Linked DNA regions of Homo sapiens: region 1 is linked to region 2. The links are contacts of gene promoters, found by promoter capture Hi-C in human tissues and cell types (Jung and others, 2019). All regions are on one chromosome and are shown on one strand. The core of a region is centred on a gene start or on the middle of the fragment in contact, and the rest is flanking DNA. Distances in the headings are between cores, read along the strand shown.

What was found. The method cuts DNA at HindIII sites, captures the fragments that hold promoters and counts their contacts. A contact is called where the count stands out against the background at its distance.
Region 1: a fragment that was not itself captured here is called in contact with the fragment with the promoter of CSRNP3 in region 2 in 2 of the 25 tissues and cell types used here (hippocampus and mesenchymal stem cells).

Annotation. Positions count from the first base shown.
Region 1 is chr2:165,534,227-165,541,782 of GRCh38, forward strand. All of the region lies in intron 3 of CSRNP3 (cysteine and serine rich nuclear protein 3), which reads left to right. Among named protein-coding and RNA genes, the nearest start is that of CSRNP3, 68 kb to the left of the region's middle. The HindIII fragment of the contact is 3,259 bases long and covers 2,970-6,228 here.
Region 2 is chr2:165,466,896-165,474,302 of GRCh38, forward strand. It overlaps CSRNP3 (cysteine and serine rich nuclear protein 3), which reads left to right and starts at 2,803. Exons shown (of 7, transcript NM_001172173.2): 1 at 2,803-2,845. The HindIII fragment of the contact is 6,911 bases long and covers 1-4,370 here.

The DNA of each region.
Region 1 (7,556 bases), core at 3,349-5,848, 69 kb after region 2:
TAATATTTACTAAAATTAAATTTGCTGAATTTCTACTACTTCCCATTTTTTACTCTGTGCTGATGCACATTTTTTGGTATCTATCTGTTTCTGAAGTCATCTGAGTTTGTGACGTCTGCTTTAGAAAGTTGCTATTGAATGAGTTTAAAAAAACTGAAAAGTGTGTAGGACAGATTCTTTTATATATTACTGGTGAACATGTAAATTCTTTACAATACTTTTGGAATATGTTTAGAAATATTTGTTAAAACACTAATTCCTTTGAATCTTCCATATGTCTGCAGCCATTCTACAGAAGGACTCATACAGGTGCATAGAGAATGTTCACTGACACATTGGTTGTGAGTAAAAAATTGAAAAAACTTCTGAATATCTATCAATAAGGTGTTGATTTAATAAACTATCATAAATTCTTATAAAGAAATATTATATAGCTCTTTAATAAAAAAATAAAGTGGTTCTAATATACACTGACATGGAAAAACATCAAGTAAATATTAAGTGAAAAAAGAAAGTGGTGAAATATTTTCAAGTTTCTTTAAAAAACAATCCCATAATATTAAAATAATAATATCTTAGTACATTAATAATATTTATCAAACTGATAATAGAAGTTGTCCTTGATTGGATGGGATTATAGTGGGTTTCTTATATTCTAAACCTATATTTCTGTAACATTTAAATTATTAAAGCAAGTATATATAACACATAATAAAAAGTGTAAATGCAGATGTTTAAGTCACCAAAACTTTCTATAAAAAATTATCAGATGAGAAACCACTTTTCTATATTATACTTGAGACTTGGCTTGGCTATTGATACTGTAAGAATAATGGTATGTAATATAGTCCAAATTTAAATACTTGTTAGTTATGTTTACCAGCTTTTTGATGTTTGTTTTCTTATTTAAATAAAATGCATTTTTAGAGATATAGGTAAAATTGCTAAATATGACTCATCCTTAGGAGGAAGAAAAACACTTAAATATTTAGATACATATTTTTTGTAAACATAAGAAGAGAAATATTTGGAGCTTCATGAAAAGTAGTATGCTGGGGACTAGGTATATTCTAAATACTTTAGCTTGTTCTTTTTTTTTTTTTCTTTGACCTACATTTTAAAACTCTGTAATAACCTGTTCTGGGAGGAAAAAAAGAACATATTCCTTCTGCTGCTAGGAAGAAAACCTTGTCATCTCAGCCTTAATCACAAACTAGGCAGTGGGTTACAAATAAGCTTGGCAAAATTTAGATGCCCTTTCCTTGTAGACCATTTAGTCTACAAATGGACAGATGATATACAAGATGGCCTTCCGTCATCAAGGATAGAATCAAGAATGAGGCAAGCTTACTTGCAGGGAAAGGAATTTGTGTGCTGGCCTTGGCAAATTTTATGTCTGACGTGATCACAATGACAGGTTTATTGCTATGATGAGAGAGAATAAAAATCTTGCTGGCCTAGAGAGGAACTTGAAAATGAAGAGGGGAACACAGTCTGGAAAATGAGATCATGGCTTGGACTACTGTCATCATTATCAATAGCAAACATATTGAGAACCTGCTAGATGAAAGAAACTAAATTAAGTATGGTGAGGCTGATGTTATAAAATCCACATGGGAAGCTGACAGTATGATATATAGTTACACTGTTGATTTAATGCCATATTTAGTCATTCTAGAAACACCAGAATTATTAGGATTTGAAAATTTCTGTTTCCCACGAAACAATGACTTCTCTTCTCAGAAAAATGTACACAAAAGTTTGCAAGTAAAATCAGAGGTCATTCATCCATAGTTCCCTGGTTCTACTTTAAAATAATGTTCTTAACACTAGAGATATGAAGGACAGTCTGGTTTTGAACTCCAAGCTATATGCACATTTGTGTGCCAATAATATACTTCCAAAGCCATTGTAACTAAATCTCAACCAAATATTGTCAACACAACTGTTCTAAGCTTTTTTCAGTTTAAATATAATAGCGTCTTATGTATTCTATTTGTTATTAGTTCAGTACTGGCAGCCTCAGAGTTTGAAAATGCAGATTCATCTGACCTCAGATTACTCTTGTTAACCTAGTTATAAATATTAACCATGCTTAAACAAGTTTCTTCCAAGTGCATCTGATTATGGTTTTTATTTCTTTCCTAAGAGTTGATCTGACTAAGGTTTCCACAATGTTTCCATAAATTTCAGCTGAATATGGCTTTCACATGATTCTGCCTGTCAAAAAACATGCTAGTACTCAATGACAACATAAAAACCACACCTTACTATTTAAAGTATTGGTTTTGTCAGGTGACAAGTAAATAACGATGGTCTCTAAGATTTTTATATTCTTCTGGGTGTTTATTGACCTCACCTTTATAAAATTACTTTTAGGATTTCTAGAGCGTGTAATGTTAAGCATGTGTCAAGTTCTTCAACTCAATGCAGTGAATAGAAAATGTATGTAAGATTTTTTTGAATTCTGACTCTGCCATGGAGAGATACTTCTGGCAGAATCTGCTCATTCTTCCAAAAGTAATATTTAATCACAACCCACTATATGTAGTTCTTTCATGTGTGCCAGTTATTGAATACATTAAATGTTATATTGCAGGATAACAAGATTTTAAATTGTGTTTTCAATTAAATAGATGAATAAAATAATATGGATTAACATTAATTAATATATATTAAGATCTGCCATAAGACCACATGCTGCACTGGCTATAGTCATTGCTTCCGTATGTATCCTGTGTATGGTATTCTCCAAAGGGAAATTGAAACCAGGATACATAAAACAAACACTCAAACAGGAAACTCTGCCTTCCCTTTCCTCCCTTTATCTCTCCAAAAGAACCATCCACAGCAGTCCAGATCTCTTATTTTTTGCATCATTCTATTGTCTCTGCTGCCCAGGACAGAAGATAAGTCACCTTCTTTAAATGTCAGGAGCGAGGGATGGTGGCTAACAAACCCAACTGTTACTGACACATTCAACTTCATGCTTTTTTTTCCTGTTTATGGCACAGGGACAAAGGAAGGGTGAAAGAAGCTACTCACTGAATGCCAGTGGGTTTATGGATCCTGACCTGGTGAATACTGAGCTTTACAGATTTGTTGGTAAAGACATTCAGAGAGTGAACCACAGGGGACCTAAAAGCCCTTAACGCCAGGAACCTCACCTTGAATTTTCCAGATGAAAATATCCCTGCATCCTAGATATATAATGAAGGCTATTTATCTGATCTATCAAATCAATGTCATATTATAAGTAGCTCAAAGAAAAGGTTTTATTATCATCAATTAATGTGTCAGTTTTATAAGTGTAAATGGAAAAATTATTATTACCTTTACATTGATTTGTTAAGAATTATTAGCAATTATTCAGAGTGTAACACCTCCTGTCAGAGAGCTCACAATTTTTTTAAAAATTTCATTTATAGTACATCAAAGAAATATCATTATATTGTTCACTCCAAACTTTCTTTTCTGTAACTGTGTCCTTTTCAAGTTATCATACTTCTTTTCTCTTGCTTTTCCCTTTCTCTACACTCCCATTTCTATTTTCTTCTCTTTGTATTGATCTTAGAGTTTCTTTTCCTTACCTTAATTAAATTTATGACCTAGATTTACCACTTGCCTTCCATTTTCTTTTTGATTTGTTCAATTCAGAAACATTTATTGTCTACCATGTGCACAGGCACTGAGAATCTTAAATGAAGAAGAGGTAGCCCCTGTTTGATGAAACTACTGAGCTTTTTTTTTCCCTTCAGCTCCTGAGGACAGATGAGAAAAGTAAAACTAGAGTGTTTGTGGATAAAGAAAGAAAACAGAGTTGGCCTGTATCTTTAGCATTATTAGCAAGGACCCACTGCTCCAGCAGTACCTTCAGCAGTTCACTGGTGGCTACAATTCCTTAAAGAGGCAAGATTATTCATCCCACAACACAGGAATATCTGCATATAAAAATACCCCTGAGAGAAATCCAGTTAATTAAGCTTTTCTTATGTGCAATTCCCATGACACTTTGTATAATTCCTTTTATTATTATTAATTATTATTACTACTACATACCACCCTGTCTCTAATTGTGCTATTTTCCCCAAAACCAGTAGGAAAGTGGGACAGGCCATTTTGAGGCTGTGGGATTCTAATTTTCAGTGATACCTTCGTGATTCTCACTAGCTTTCTCCTTCTTTGAAGATTATATCTGCTGCCTCTCCTTTCCCGTATACTTCATGAACTAGCTAGGTGCGTATTCTATCCCATTTACCCAGTGTCCCCACTTCCATCCAGTCTCTCACAACTCATGGCGAAGAAAGGACATATCTCTTTCTTATTTCCATATGGACTGAAAGAGCCATTGTGTGGAATTGCTTTTGAAATGAATTATTGACATTTTCAATGGCATCTTCCCTAGTATCTTGCCTTGACATTTCTCCCATTTTTTTCATAGTCATCTCCAGTAATAGAAATAGATATTCTATTCCCTTACTTTCTGTTGAAGTGCCTCCTCCCCCTCTTAATTAAATAATGAAATTATTTATCTTTGCATTGAGTCTTGACATATTTTCTGGCATGTAGCAATACACTTGTGAACACTGTCTTAGAGATACACTTCTCACTTATGAAGCATCTTGCATTTTGCCATTCCTAGGTACCTGTTTTGCCAATTTTCAAGTAGTAAAAACTATGTTTAACAATTCTATCACCACAAATACAGAGAGAGTTTTCTATTTTCCACATTTGGAAAAGAAATACTCCTAACGATATCTCATGCTACAGGAAGCATGAGTTATTCTGGAATAGTGGATTGAAAAAGTACGATGTTATTTAAGCAACCAAGACAGGGTCAAAATTTTCATTAAGTCTTATCGTTTTCTTTAAAATTTATGCAACCCTTTGCATTCAACCTGATGGTATATTTATGTTTGTTGTAATACAAGATAATATTTTGATTACTTAAAGCATTTTCTCTAAGTATTTTTAGTAAAACTGACAGATCAATATGCACTGTTTTTACTCTGTGGCTTCATGTAAGTCCAATATGCCTCGTCTGATAGGGAAGCAGGAATAGACAAGAATTTGCTTTTTCTTTCACTCTGCCCAGCTAGTACACTGAATTTTCATGGCTAACCTACTTGATTTTCTTCCCAGTCATATACACACCTACTTTTCCCCTCACGCCAGAATGAGCTGACTTTTTACCTGACATATAAAAGCTTCCTTTATTGTTTTCCAATATTTGATTATTTTCCCCTAATGGCTATGTATTTTAAACATTTTTGCATAGCTCCTCTAGATGTTTTTGATTAACAACTTAAAGAGAACAAAGGCTTTAGTCTGTTCCATAATTTACAGTGTGTCTTGAACAGCTGATGTATAAAAAGATGCTTAATAAATGCATTTTGATGATGACTTTTTAATTCATTTTCCACTCCTCTCTTTCTGCGACCTTTTTATTTAAATCAACGTGAATTTATATTTGCACTCCAAGTGGCTGCCTGCTAGAGATACAGTTAACAATAAGCAAAAAGTCAGAAGTAAGAATAACAGTAATAATCGCTGGTATAAAAGTGGTGTAAATTTTCAGAATTAATTTAATTCTGTGCCTGAATTATTTTAATTTTCATGTAAGACTGATTTTTGCTAAGGGTGTTTGTTAGCAGCTATGCTGGAGCAAATTCTAAGAAACTAGAGGTCCTGGAAATCTGAATAAATCTACAGGTGAAGACTACTCCTTGAACTTGGGAAAACATCAGAATTGCTGTTAATGTACAAATAAACCCAAAGGATAAAATGCCAGTAGTGATTGACCTGTAGTCCATCCCCAATAAAATGACATGAAGTGACAAGACTCTCCAGCCCAAACCTCTAACCTATTACTATTCCTGGATAGCAGAGTGCATGTCTCACTGAGGCAAGGTGTTGGCAAGCAACCAGTTCTCCCTCTCTTTTGCTCTAAAATGCATTGAATAGGCTGTTGAACTTGTTTATATTATTTGCTCCAGTGGCTTGCCTTGGCAAATTACTCCCTGTCTTTATTGTTAAATTCAGTGTACTGGTAGTGTTTTAATTTTTGTTTGCAGCCCAGTGTTTGACATTTCCACTAGTGTAAACAATATTGGGTAAGTTGATATTCTCTCTGAGACAGAAGCTTATAAAGTTTCTCTTTTCCTCTATTTGGTAGTCTTTTACCCAGTAACTTGCAAGTCTTTATTTTTACCTTTAAAATTATCTTAATTCTATGAGAAACATAATTAATACCTGCGATCTTGTCTGTGCTCTACTGCTGGGCAAGGCAGTCTCCTCCTTATCTCCTTCGAAAGCTTAACTGTGAAGTCAGCTTCTCTTCACTATTCTCTGCACACTAAGCCCTGGAGACTCATGCAGACATTCCTTGTGTTCCACAACACACCACATTGATCTTTCCCATTTTATGGCACCAGTTCTTTTTTTTCCCCAGGAATCCCTGCTGGCTTGTCCCTGTAAGATTCTGGTTACATTCTGAATTACCAGTTTAGTCTAAATTTCTAAAGCCTGAACTCTGGGTTCTAGTGACCTAGAGGGGTAATTCACCTGCCTGGATGGCCCTGTCTGGAAGGGACCATCCATCTTCTGTACCTGGTAGTTTGGTAGTCCTTCTCTATTTATCTTTAATATAGTTTCTGGGTAATTTGTGTAATTTATGCATCTAGAAATAACTTCCCAGGAACATTTTGTATATATTTGTAAAAATCAAATATTTTTACATGGCGGGGTTTTCTCTGAAGAGTATGGCCTTCCAAAGAAAATTTTACATTATAACGTCTTGTATTGCCCCAACTGCTTGAGCTTAGAGTCAATATTTTATATACCACCAAACAATCAACCTATTTTATTTGAGTATTTACCTGAAGGGTCAGTTACTGTTTGTAGTTCGAATTCTAGCTCAATCCCCATCTAGAGTTTCTGCCCTTCTCTCTCTACCTGAATAGCTGCTATGTAATCATATCCTCTACACCAAATGCATTTTTTTTTTTTAGACAGTGAGGAAGGACTTCCAGGTTCTTTTTTAATTGGATAATTCACATATTGGATATTATACAAGTTCATAAAGGAAAGACCCTTTTGTTTTATTCTTTACTCGATCACTTTTCATATGGCTCCTAGAATTCTGTCCCTCAGTGGCTCCTGAGCACTACAGAGGTCGTCCCATAGGACACAGATTGTCCTAAGGCCTCTCTCCTCTGTCTTCAGCTACTTCAAAATGACTTGAAGCTGGAGGTCTCTCTACCACATAATGGGTGGTGCCTGCCTTCAAAGTTTTCTGCCCATTTATAGCACAGGTTCTTCTCTCTCCACTTTAGAGCCCTGAGGGACAGCCAACCCAGGTGACACACATCGTGGGATACAAAGGTGAATTAGATAATCTCTGCCTATAGAGAACACAAATCTAAATGCAATTATACAATATCTCCTAAACTCTCATGTGACCACTGTAGACCTCACACCCATGATCAGCTCATTCCACTGTTAGAACCTGGTGTCAAGATCTGAGCAGTTGTTTCTATCTCTCCTGTCATACACTT
Region 2 (7,407 bases), core at 1,553-4,052:
GTTGTACATTAGATCTCTAGACTTGTTCATCATATATATATATATATACACACATATACACACACACATACATATATATATATATATATATGCTTCTTTGTATCCTCTGACCTACATCTTCCCATACCCCCAGTCCCTGCCTCTGGTAATCACTGTTTTGTTCTCTATCTCTATATATTTGATTTTTTTTTTTACAAAGATTCTGCATATAAGTGAGACCAGGCAATATTTCTGTGTCTGGATTATAGCACATAGCATAATGTCCTCCAGGCTCATCTACATAGTGGCAAAAAGCAAGATCTATTTTTTAGGACTGAATAATATTCCATTGTGTATTTGTACCACATTTTTATCCCCTTGTCCATCAATGAATGCTTAAGTTGTTTCCATATGTTGGCTATTGTGAATAATGCTGCAATGAACATGGTAATACAGATATCTTTACAAAGTTGTGATTCCACTTCTGAGTATATGCCCAGAAGAGAGATTGCTAGATCATATGGTAGTTCTATTTTTAATTTTTTTACAATCATCCATACTGTTTTTCATAATGCTGTAGCAGTTGACATTCCCACCAACAGTGTACAAGAGTACTCTTTTCTCTACACTCTCTCCAACATTTATCTGCAGACATTTTGATAACAGCCGTCCTAATAAATATGAGGTGGTATTTCTTAGTAATTTTGATTTACATTGCCCTGAGGATTGGTGATGCTGAGCATATTTTCATAAACCTGTTGTCCATTTTTATGTCTTCTTTGGAGAAATGTCTATTTGGGCCTTTTGTCCATTTTGTATTGGGTTTGTTTTTCCACTGTTAAGTTTTATGAGTTCTTTATAAAATTTTTATATTAAACCCTTAGGGTGCTCATTTATTTTCATTACTTTAACCGAACCCTAGATGCTGGGGGTTCCAAATTGAACCTACATCCCAGCCTTATTTATGAGTTTAACTGACTATTTAATATTTTAATCTGGATATCCAAAAAGTTCAAAACGTTCAAATTAATTTTGTTATTTTGTTCCCAAATCTCTAAATCTCTCTTTTTTTTTTTTTTCTGAGACAATGGCATCATCATCTAAACAGAAGAAATCTGGTTAGAATTTGTGCCCTGCAAATACTTGCCTACAAGTCTCTGTCTACAATCACACTTGACATATAAATCACCTGGGAGAGCTTGCTAAAAATGCTGAGTCAGAAACTCCTCAAATGCTTATTCATTAAATCTGGAGGAGGCCCATGAACCTGCATTTTTAATGAATCTTCCCCTAGTGGTTCTGATGAAGATGGCCCCGAACAACTATTTCTAAAAATGCTGTCTGTCCTAGGGATTCCTCCAGTTATTCCTAGCAATAGGACCACAAAGGCTTTGAAAGCATTTTTCACAACAGAGGACTTGGCGGTGGGAATAAGCGATAGTTTAGTCTTCCCCATAATCTTTAGCAGAGCCTCCCAAAGCTACTCTAAATAACAGTGCAAACTAAGCAAAATCAGTGCACTCCTATCTAAAGTTAGTATCAGTTTAAGTCACCAGCCATTCCTTTCCTAACAATATTGACACCCCAAGCCCTTCCTGTACAGATATTCCTGGACTAATGATTTGCCACCATGCCAGTAACTCTTAAAGAATGCTTGCTTGCCCTTCCCTCTAATTTTACTCCCTTTGGCCTTATTCCCATGAGGACACATTACTGATTTAAGAAATTGAAGAGCAAGGCTTATAAATACCTCAAGTAGCCAGTACATACCTCTATAGTGGTGATATCTACTGTATATGTCTTTCTAAGGAAATTTTTCAGACCACCTCCACTAGAGGAAGCTCAATTGAGAGAATTTTTATCATAAAGATCCCTGGTTTGTATTACAGTATTTTAAAAATTAAACTGTTTGAAACTGGATGAATTTGCTTTATTGCCTTAAAAAATCCTAATTTGGTGTTTTCTTTAACTGTCCTTTAATGCATGTTATGCCTCTAGGTTCAGAAGTGAAATGATTTTTGTTTAAGTTTATTAGAATAAAATTGGAGTTCAGCTGGTCACTTTGAGGCATGGCAACCAAGTGACTGATCTCTTTTTAATCTTTAATAAGTTCCATTATTCACAAATTGATGGCATTTAAGGAATCTGAAGTAATGCAAACCACATAACTGTGAAATATTTGAATATTCTAATGCTCAGAATGAAATATTTTTCATACTGATTAGGCCTCGAAACTGCGTTTGAATGAAAACATTGTCAAACAGAGGTTGTAGTGCAAATAATATAAAACATAAGTATAAAGGGTGTTGATTCATTTTAATTCTATCTCTTTGCAAACTGAATATGCAAAATGTCATCTTGATGTTCAGTCTCCCTCCTCTGTCTGCATATCAAAATGTATAATGAGGAGGTACACTTTTTTCACTGAGAAAAATCAGTGGGAACTAAAAAACAGGCAATTTACCTAGGTTTTACTATGAGCATTTTGCTTTGATTTCAGGTAGGTGAGGCATTGATTAACTTTATTTTTCTAAATCCAAAGCAAGACTTTTTACTTCAGCTGAGGTCATCTGCAGACATTTTCCATAGTTGGGAGCTATTTTTTGAAATATCTTGCATCTCTGCTTTTCTCTCCATATTTCTTTTCTCCACTCGCTTCCTCTCTCCCAGCTGCAGGGATTCGTCCTCTAAAAGAGTGGAGGTGGGAGGGAACAAGAAATGGAAGCAAAGCAGGGAGCATGAGCTAGAGAATGCCAGGATCTGGCTTTTGTTATTGGTTGGCTGCCGCCTGATGGATAGACGAGGGAGGAGTGTACTCTCTTCAGTGTGTTCTGACGGAGCCGAAGTACAGAAACCATATTTACAGGTAAGAGCGAAAAATAAAAAAAAAGAAAAGAGAATTCTTTTTTTCTTTAAAAGAGAATGCTTCTTAATTTTTACGGAAACAATTTTATAGTAGGAAAATTATTCTGAGGACATTTTCTGAAAGTGTGTCCCTTTTATTACTTGAGGAAGCTTTGCAATGAGCTTGCTGTTCTTTCTCTCTGCAAAATCCTTAGCTGATTAAAAACAAAACAAAACAATCACCAGAGGCATGTCTTATCCTAAATAACTTTCTATGCAAGTGTCACTGAAGCAAAATTAATAGATAAAATGAATCATCATGTGTCTCTTCAAAAATGTTTAATTCAAGCTTGTTACTAGGAATCGCAGGAAGGATGAGAAAACCTCGGTAAATTCCACAGGTCCTGAGAAAATGGAGCCTTCTGTGAATATACAATATAAAATTTCATGTGATGGCTTTTAATATTGACAATACAGTAAAAGGCTTAGGAAAACTATTTTTGCAGGTTGTAGACTCTTTTAGCATTAATTTAGAATGAATGATTTGTGTGCATTTAAGCCCTGTTATTTAACTTACTCCTCTTGATAAATCTCATGTTGTTCAATATTTGCATTATTTTATTCAGCAAACTTTAAGCTTATGTGATAATTAAACAATGGTTTGTCTCTACTTGTTAACTTACATGGAGCCATTTTTATTTTAAAGCACAGAAACCTAATTTTGAAAGATTAAACATTGCTGTAAAAAATAGCATCTTAACAGTCATGTTTCATGGGTAGTTTAATTTATCAGTCAAACACATCTAGATAAGAATTCCATCAGAGCATTTATATTGTTGATAATATCTCTAGGCAATTTTTTTTTAGCAACTTTACTAGGTGCTTGTATCTCCTAATATGGTCCTTTATATTGCCTTAGGGAAAAAAGGGACAAGTTCTAAGTATGTAGAATAAATAACACACTTGCAGTAAAAACATACAAAAAAACTGAACTCCCAGTCACTTAATTCTTTACTTTAATTCATAAATACAGGTCATTTAACGGTGGTAGAACCTCATTAAAATTGAACTTTCAAGAATTATGACTGACTTCAGTACACTGGCCATCGATTAATACCTGTTGATTATAATAATAAAATAAAAGTCTTTCAATGAGGTAAATAATTTGTTCCTACATATTTTAATACCTTTTTGAATGAATCAAAACTAATAGGAATGACTATATAATTTCTAAATATTTTTTGCTATTGTTTTTCTTTTTGTTTATTGTTTTTCAAATTTTTTTATTTATTGTACTTTTTTTGTTTGAGAGATTTTGTCTTTGAATAAACAGACACAAATATAATAGTTCTTGGAAAATTAAAATGAGTGAGAAAATTGCTGAATATTAGTATGGATTATCTAAATGAATTGAGAATTACCTTAAATTTCCTAAAAGTACTAAATATAGTTAATAACATGTTTATATGGTTAAGTGTCATAATGAACCAAGTAAATATTCTGGTATGGTTGATTTTGAACTGTTTCTGGATTTCAAAAATTATTACATAATACTGAAATTTTGGCATGTTTCTAATTATTGATGGATCTTTCCGATTTTGTTTTTTTAAGCAAAACAATGGTTGAAATTAATCCACCCCTCACCCCAAGATTGAAATTCAAGGTGATATATAAGACCAGATATTCATCTCCTAAAATGTATTAGAGGAAATAAATCAATGCAGCTATATTTTTTAGAAATTATAAATTCTGAGTAAAGCTACCTCCAGGAATGAAGGGGAATTGATGAAAATTAGAGAGCAGAGTTCCACATGGTTTTAAATTATTCTGTTTCCTTGGAAACCAGCTGCTGCAGATGCATTTTGCTTTCTTTGGCTAAAAATATCACCCTTTTAATAATCACTAAGGGAGAGGACTGAATAAAACCAGAGTATATTGTTGCTGCTTTTTATAATTTCCTTAATGGTTCACATATTTTGGATGAAAAGTAGATAAACCCTTTCTCAATCAGCATTTCCTATCAGCCACTGGCAGACGTCTGCAAGTCTTATAAAAATGAGACAACTGGGGTAGCTTTTACTGCAGAGTCCACAGGAAGAGATAGAGAGAGAGAGAGAATGTGTGCTGGAGTGGAGACAAGAGAGAAAAAAAAAGCATGAAAGAAAACAGTTAAGAGGTTACTGTCCAAGTGAAGGATGAAACAAGGCAAATGAAAACCATGTAAGGCTTTCAGTGAGAAATGGGAAGGCATCACCATTTTTTTTTCCTTTGGTACAAACATTTTTAAGATTTAAATGTAGGTTTTTAATGGAGCTCACTATATACAGCTTTGTCCCCTTTTCACAACACTCTTTCCTTTTTCTCTTTATGTTTGCAGTGGTTTGCAATATAATGAATAATACAATAAATTAAGAAGTATTTTTTAATGTATCAATCACTTTAATCATAAAGAGAGAAGCTTGGTATATGTCCAGGCTATGGATAGTGAGGAGCATTCAATACACATTTTGACATTAGAATAAGAATTTTTTAAACTTAACGTCCAAACCATGTTTCATTAATGCAATTATTTCCTTACCTTTGTAATCTATTTAATATGTATAAAAAATTACACATTCCAACAACCTAAAAGCTATTTGTGTTAATGTTAAGGTAATTAATTTAAAATTTAATATAAATCACTGTAAATGCACATATATCCTTTTTGCTTTATTTGAAACATTTTTGCTTTCTTTGAAAATAAACATTACTTTTATGTAGCTTTTCTCTATACAAAAAAAAATCACAATTATCATCATATTCTACCCTAGGCAATTCCTTAATTTAAAACATTTTTATTATAAAATTACATGCTTCAAAGGCAGCACTGTCATCCCATACACCATTTTTTTCAAATCTCTCAGCTATTTGTTAAGAGGAAAAATCATCATAAAGCTGTTAACAGCTTTCCTATTATTTTTGTTATAATTCAGATGAGATTCCTAACTCTTATTTTCTCTTTACAACTCATTTAAATATTTGTGACATATCATACTTTATTTTCATAATATTAACCTTAGTCTATTAGATTCAATGTTAGCAATGTAGCAAATAAAGCACCACATGCTTAAACTACGTGTTAAAATATTTAATATGTAGCCAACATATTATTTAAAGTTAAATTAATTTGGCATGTCAGTACGTTATTTTCAAAAAAAGCTAAGATGGTGGGAAGTATTTTGTTTTTATCAATTAACACGAGCAAAGCACTTCAGTGACAGCACTTTCAGCATAAACACTGATGACATTAAAAAGCAAGCTAACAACAAATCAGATAGACTAGTAAATGGATTATGTGACCTGTGTAGACAACCCCTATTTAAGGCACAACCAAAATTATCAATGCTTGTCAAGATCCTGAAGAGAATGCATTTCGTAGGCTTACTCTCAACTACAGATAATTTAAAAATACAGTTTGTTAGTCATTTCTACTTACTGCTTCATGCTTCTTTCTTTGCTAAACGTAGCTTGCCAGAATTGTGGGTGGGTTTTCATGGCCTCTTAAAGTCTCACAAAATATACTAAAGAAAACAAAATACTTAATTACTTCCCCTATAATATAAGTAGACAACTTTACATCTGTAATGGAAATATGCTAGTTTGGCAAATAACCTCTTATTGCTGGAAATGGAGGGGTGGCATTTACAAGAAATGGAAATAACATGAGAGTAAGAAAGCTTGGGTCAGATTTAATAATATTCAAATTGTGCTGTATACATAAACTAATCCAGTCAAATGAAAAAATTACATTAACATTTGTACTATAGTACATCACAACTCAAAGGTATTATTAATCAGATGTTATTTTTGACTAATATATTTAATACCTGATAGTTTAATACAGGGCTTATACAGATATTAAAAGGGGGTTGGTTCAAAGCAGCATTATTGCTTTTTAATTATGATTTGGTATGAAGAAGCAAGGAATGGATTTATCAAGCTAATTGTCACATTTGGATATTTCACATATCTCAATGAATCAGTTGGGCAGATCATTTGATTTCTCTGTCAATTGCTTAGATTTCAGATATTATAATGGCCTAAATTGTTTGAGCTGAAAACTGTTGAATATGCATGCCCTGAGAAAACACTCAATATAACTTGTAAGGTATTTAATTCAAGATTATAACGATCTAGATAAATATCAGTGCTATTTCTATGAACTACGTATAGTAAGGAAATCACTTTGATACGAGATCAACTTCATGATCAACTTCATGATCTCATATCATGGCCTGAAAAGAAGATAAGCATGCATGTGACTTATTTCCAATAAGCTCTTATACTTTACTTAGATCAAGAGCTTAATACATTATTTTCCAATACCACAAAGGGTGGTGCACACATTTCTCCTTATCTCCTGACTTGTGCACATTCATAAAAATGACATTATTTTAAACAAAAATCACCAACACTATCAAATGTAGTTTTTAAATTTATATTTTTTTATTTTATCATATTGTTTTATTTTATTTTATTTTATATTTTAGAGATAGGGCTTTTCTATGTTGCCAGGCTTGAGTGCAGCAGGCTATTCACAGGCAA